2 separate regions of the Homo sapiens genome follow, and region 1 is linked to region 2. The links are contacts of gene promoters, found by promoter capture Hi-C in blood cells and fetal thymus (Javierre and others, 2016). All regions are on one chromosome and are shown on one strand. The core of a region is centred on a gene start or on the middle of the fragment in contact, and the rest is flanking DNA. Distances in the headings are between cores, read along the strand shown.

Region 1 (2,700 bases), core at 183-2,682, 8.4 Mb after region 2:
AAATTAGCCGGGCGTGGTGGTGCGGCCTGTAGTCTCAGCTACTCCAGAGGCAGAGGCAGGAGAATTGCTTGCTTGAACCCAGGAGGCGGAGGTTGCAGTGAGCCGAGATCATACCACTGCACTCCAGCCTGGGTGACAAAGTGAGAATCGGTCTCAAACAAAAACACACAAATTAGCTGGGCCTGCTGGCGGGCGCCTGTAATCCCACCTATTCGGGAGGCTGAGGCAGGAGAATCGCTTGAATCCAGGAGGTGGAGGTTGCAGTGAGCTGAGATCGCGCCACTGCACTCCAGACTGGGCGACAAGAGCAAGACTGTCTCAAAAAAAAAAAAAAAAAGAGGTGGGGTCTCTCTGTCACCCAGGAGTGCAGTGGCTTCATCATAGCTCACTGCAGCCTGGGACTTCTAGGCTCTGGTGATCCTCTCACCTCTGCATCCCAAGTATCTGGGACTACAGGCACATTGCGGCTGGCTTTTTTGGGCGGGGGAGTCGGAGAGTAGTATGTTCTCAGGCCCCAGAACCATGTTCAGCACATAGAAGGTAAACATTTGCTGAATGAAGCCACTTGCACGAAGTCACACGCAGCTGAGATTCAAACCACACCTAACTGTGAGGAACTGTGTCAGGCACTCTGCTTAGCCAATTCCAACTCCTCCACTTGACAGCTGTGTGATTTGGGGCTGGTTAGTATCCAGCGGCAGTGTGCCTCTGCTTCCTCAACTGTAAACTGGGGTGAAAGCCATGAAGATTTATTTCAAAGTATTGTGGTCAGAATTAAACGAAATCAGTACATGTGAAGTGCTTACAATGATGCCTCTAGCACGGTGGCGAGACCAGAGTTTTGGCTATTTTTAAAATAACTTTACCACCTACTAGATCCTACAAGTCACACGAGGACAGGCGAAATAGGCTATGTTAGACACAAACACTCACCGATCTGTGAAGGAGTAAGGCCCTTCTTGGCCAGTTTGTAAATCTGCTCCTTCACGTCGTCAGATGTCAACTTCAACCACTGTTATGGAATAGAAAGCAGCCTTAGGATGAGAACCCAGGAATGGCGCCGCAGAACAGCGGTCTCTCCTTCCGCAAAACCGCGCTCCTCATACACGCAAGTTCCTCACCCTGGCGTCGCTTCACCCGAGACAAATGCCAACCCCCTCCCCGGATTCTCCCCGGTCCCAGCGCGCTACTTACAGTGGGGACGCTGCGTCGATAGGGTAAAGCCGACTGGGACAGGCCCTTCCTGGGGAGAGAAGCAGTCTCGAGGTGAGGTGGCGGCTAGTGCCAGAGCAGCCCAGAACATCATCCCCTCGGCCCGCTGCCCACACTCCCTGTCTTCCTCCCACCCCCCGCCCAGCAATCCGGCTTGATGCCCCGAGCTCACCCGGGAGCATGCATGCGACCCATGATGGCGGCGATCAGGCAACGAAAGGAGAGCGAGAGTGGAAACGCCGCAGGAAGCCACCCAACACGCAGGAAGTGACCTCACACGTCCCCGCTTCCTCTCACGCAGGAGGCGGAGCTACGCTGCGCAGCCACCGCCCGTCTGTGTGACTACATCTCCCGAAATGCATTTCAGCGTCGCAAGAGATCGTCAATCCAGCCTCATCCCGGCATGCATCGGTCTTTGGTCAGCCTTGTTGCCAGAGCGGGAATTTGAGGCTGACGCCAGCTTGCGTCGAAATTCCCTGTGGACGCCGAGATCACAAAGATTCGAATGCTGCGCTGGGGGTGGGTATGGAGCAGGTAGGGCTGGAAGAAGCAGCCATACACAGGTGTTTGCTCATTCACCAGTGCCTGGCTTTGTCCTGGCACTAGATCCCTCAGAGTCGGCCCTGCGCCTAATAAATTAACAGATACAATAGCATGTGATGAGGACCACACGGGAAGCCATGGCAGCGGCTACCGCCCAGCCAGCGCTTCCATTTCTCATTTCTAAATCCTACCCTAATCTGTCAGGGGAGAGTCGCTGACGGTGAAGAACCGGTCTAAGGAGTTGAACCAGGTCCCCACGGATGCCTGCCGCCCTCCGCACTCGAATTCCCCTGCGCAGGGCTCTGGGGCGCTGGGCTCGCCGGGGAGAAGGGTTGGGCAGAGGCTTACGGAGCTATGTTCCCAAGTGAGAGAGTTGGCGGGCAGGGAAGAGCCTTGGGAGCAAGACTGCAAAGGCCAAGAGGATGAGGGATAAAATGAAGCATTTGAATTTCATGGGAAAAGGGAACCGTCAAGGAAGAAGCTTTTTTTTTTTTTTGAGACGGAGTTTCGCTCTTGATTCGCAGGCTGGAGTGCAATGGCGCGATCTCGGCTTGCCGCACCCTCCGCCTCCCGGCTTCAAGCGATTCTCCTGCCTCAGCCTCCTGAATAGCTGGGATCACAGGCATGCGCCACCACTTCCAGCTAATTTTGTATTTTTAGTAGAGACGGGTTTTTCCATGTTGGTCAGGCTGGTCTTAAATTCCCGACCTCAGGTGATCCGCCCGCCTCGGCCTCCCAAAGTGCTGGGATTACAGGCGTGAGCCACCGCGCCTGGCCGGAAGAAGCTCTTTTAAGACAGACCTAGCCTGGGCAACATGGCGAAACCCCCTCTCTATAAATACAAAGAATTAGCCGGGCGTGCTCGCTCGTGCCTTTGGTTCCAGCTACGAAGGAGGCTGAGGTGGAGAATCTCTGGAGCCGGGAAGGACATTGCGGTGAGCCGAG
Region 2 (2,700 bases), core at 201-2,700:
CCAGGATGGTCTCGATCTCCTGACCTCGTGATCCGCCCGCCTCGGCCTTCCAAAGTGCTGGGATTACAGAAGTAAGCCACCACGCCCGGCCAGAATTTTGGATATTTTAGCTAAAATATATTTTAGCTGAAGGGGGCAAGACAAAGAAAAATAAATAAATACACGCTCACACATACACACAGAGAATAACTGAGGGGATGGGATTTTAAAAATTTATTTCATTTTTCCCATGGGATCTATTAATAGACTAGCGAGGGGATGGGATCTTGAACACTGGTTGAAGGAACCGACTTAAGAGCGAAGACATGCTGCTATTAGCGAAGACAGGGAGGTGAGGGTAAGTTCATTTATTCACTCAACAATCACTAGTTGAGTGTGGATTAAAAAAAACAGTCCTTGACCACATAAGGAATTAGGTCTAGTAGGGAAGACAAACGTAGGTCAATAAATTACATAAGGGTTATACTAGATTGTGTGGTGGTACAGGTGGGGAAGCGAGCAACTGTCTGCATTGTGTCCAGGAAAGGGTCACAGGCGTGTTATGTAGATTCTGGAGAAAATTCAAAAATAGCATTTATTTTTACTTATTTACTTTTGTATGTGGAGACGAGGGTCTCACTATGTTGCCCAGGCTGGTGTTGAACTACTCGCCTCAAGAAATCCTCCCGCCTCGACCTCCCAAAGTGTTGGGACTACAGGTGTGAGCCACCGCGCCTGGCCTAAATGTGGCATTTAGAAAAAGTATTTACAACATCTGCATTAAAAGGACCATAAAGCAACCAGGCATCTAAGTCCCTGAAGCAATTTAAGTTGCTCAAACTTGAGAGGACAACCAAATGATAGCAAAAGGGCAAAAGAGAAAGGAAGCTGCAGTGCCCACTCAGAAGTGTGAGAGCGGGAGAAGGCATTTCGGGAGCCGCCCGAGCTTCAGGAAACCGAGCGAGACACCAGGTGGGCACACTGAGGATTAAAGAGGGCCTCGCGGTTCCGCACTGCGGCCGGGAGACAAACCAGTAGCCACTATCACCAGCCCCGGGCAGACCACTAAGAACTGTGGAGGTGCGCGGGGCGGCTCAGGGCTGGCGCATTTGGTGAGGAGCTCAGACAACGAGGCCCTTAGGGTCGGCTTAGGCGGTTCCCTGACCAAGGCGCCAGAAAAGGGCCTGGCTCAAGCAAGCACGGGCGGCGTGCAGTACAGCACACCTAGCCCCGATTCTTCAACAGTTCTCGCCCTCCGAGCCTAGCACAACGAGCCTCACCGAAACCGTACACCGCCACCAGGACACTCCGTGATGGGGGATCACCACCCTCAGAAAGAGGAAGCGACTAGCAGGCGCGCAATCCCGCGAGACCAGGAGGCCCCGCCCGAAGCCCGGCCTCTGTGACCGGAAGTGAGGCGTTTTGCCCCGCCCCCGTGGCCGATACCTCGCGAGACTTGGCGAAGGCCTTCCTTTTTCGTCTGGGCTGCCAACATGGTAGGTGTTTCGTTTCTTGCCTCCTCTTCCTTGCCGGCGGAGACCCCTAAGCTGTATTCCCATTGCCCCTAGTCATCCACTCCCTACCATGGTCGGGGCTTCCAGGCTGCGCATGGCCGCCTGCGGGGCAGGGTGGCCGGCGCGGGCCCGGGGCGGGGCTCCCGGAGCCGTGTGTTAGGCCCGCGGTTCGGATCTCTAGGACACGCGGGCCCCTGCGCTACCGTGGTGAGACCTCACGGCCCTGAGCGGATCGGTACCCTCAGCTTTCCCAAACGCTCCAGAAGTTAGGTCTTTGACCCACAGGCTTACAGGACCATCTCGGCTGGCGGGCATCGCCCCCTGCCCCTAATTCCTTAGGCCTTACCACCAAGCTTTTTCCACACAGCCATCCAGACTGAGGAAGACCCGGAAACTTAGGGGCCACGTGAGCCACGGCCACGGCCGCATAGGTAAGTGCCGGCTTCCCCTCGGGGTGGGCCTTGGGCTCTCTTCGGGTGCTTAGCTAGTCTGGAGATCGGTAGCCTATAAGTGGGTTAGAATAAGACCTTTTTGTGGTCAAGTTGCACAGCTGTTGATTTTTTTCTGACGATCCTCTAGTATTCCAGTTCTAAGGAATTTCACATCAGTGGGGTAATAGGAATTGAGCAGGCACGGTATTGGGTTAGTTGAAGACATGGAGTACTGTGGGAATGCTGTGATGTGGAACCTGAAAAGATGTTTCACCCGGAATCCTAAAGTAATCGCATTGCTGAAAACCGGCATCGGTAGGGTGGGAACAGCGTAAGCGGGACACAGAAGTCTGGGAAACACTCTGCTTTTGTGCGAGGAAGTATTGAGATGCATGAGAAGGCTGTGTGGTGCATGTAGCTTTTTTGTGTGTGTGTGAGACTGATCACTGTCGCCCAGGCTGGAGTGCAGTGGCGAAATCTCGGCTCACTGCAACCCCTGCCTGCCGGGCTCAAGCGATTCTCCTGCCTCAGCCTCCCGAGTAGCTGATATTACAGGTGTGCGCCACGACGCCCGGCTAATTCTTTTTCTATTTTTAGTAGAGTCGGGGGTTTCTCCGTGTTGGCCAGGCTGGTCTCGAACTCCTGACCTCAGGTGATCTACCCCCCCTCGTCCTCCTAAAATGCTGGGATTACAGGCATGAGCCATCACACCGGCCCCACGTAGCTTTGTATTCCTGCAGGCAAGCACCGGAAGCACCCCGGCGGCCGCGGTAATG

The links. Contacts are between HindIII fragments. The CHiCAGO score rates a contact against its expected background, and 5 or more counts as called.
Region 1: a contact is called between the fragment with the promoter of RPS13 here and the fragment with the promoter of RPL27A in region 2, in 1 of 17 cell types (non-activated CD4 T cells). The highest score is 7.1, in non-activated CD4 T cells.

What each region holds. Positions count from the first base shown.
Region 1 is chr11:17,076,235-17,078,934 of GRCh38, forward strand. It overlaps RPS13 (ribosomal protein S13), which reads right to left and starts at 1,433. Exons shown (of 6, transcript NM_001017.3): 1 at 1,385-1,433; 2 at 1,195-1,243; 3 at 934-1,012. The coding sequence starts at 1,407. RefSeq lists an enhancer at 1,467-1,666. The HindIII fragment of the contact is 8,959 bases long and covers 1-2,234 here.
Region 2 is chr11:8,681,342-8,684,041 of GRCh38, forward strand. It overlaps RPL27A (ribosomal protein L27a), which reads left to right and starts at 1,451. Exons shown (of 5, transcript NM_000990.5): 1 at 1,451-1,475; 2 at 1,861-1,924; 3 at 2,665-2,700. The coding sequence starts at 1,473. It overlaps TRIM66 (tripartite motif containing 66), which reads right to left and starts at 1,324. Exons shown (of 25, transcript NM_001388022.1): 1 at 1,260-1,324. RefSeq lists enhancers at 881-2,080, 944-1,013, 1,214-1,403, 1,730-2,372 and a silencer at 1,524-1,723. The HindIII fragment of the contact is 2,972 bases long and covers 1-1,844 here.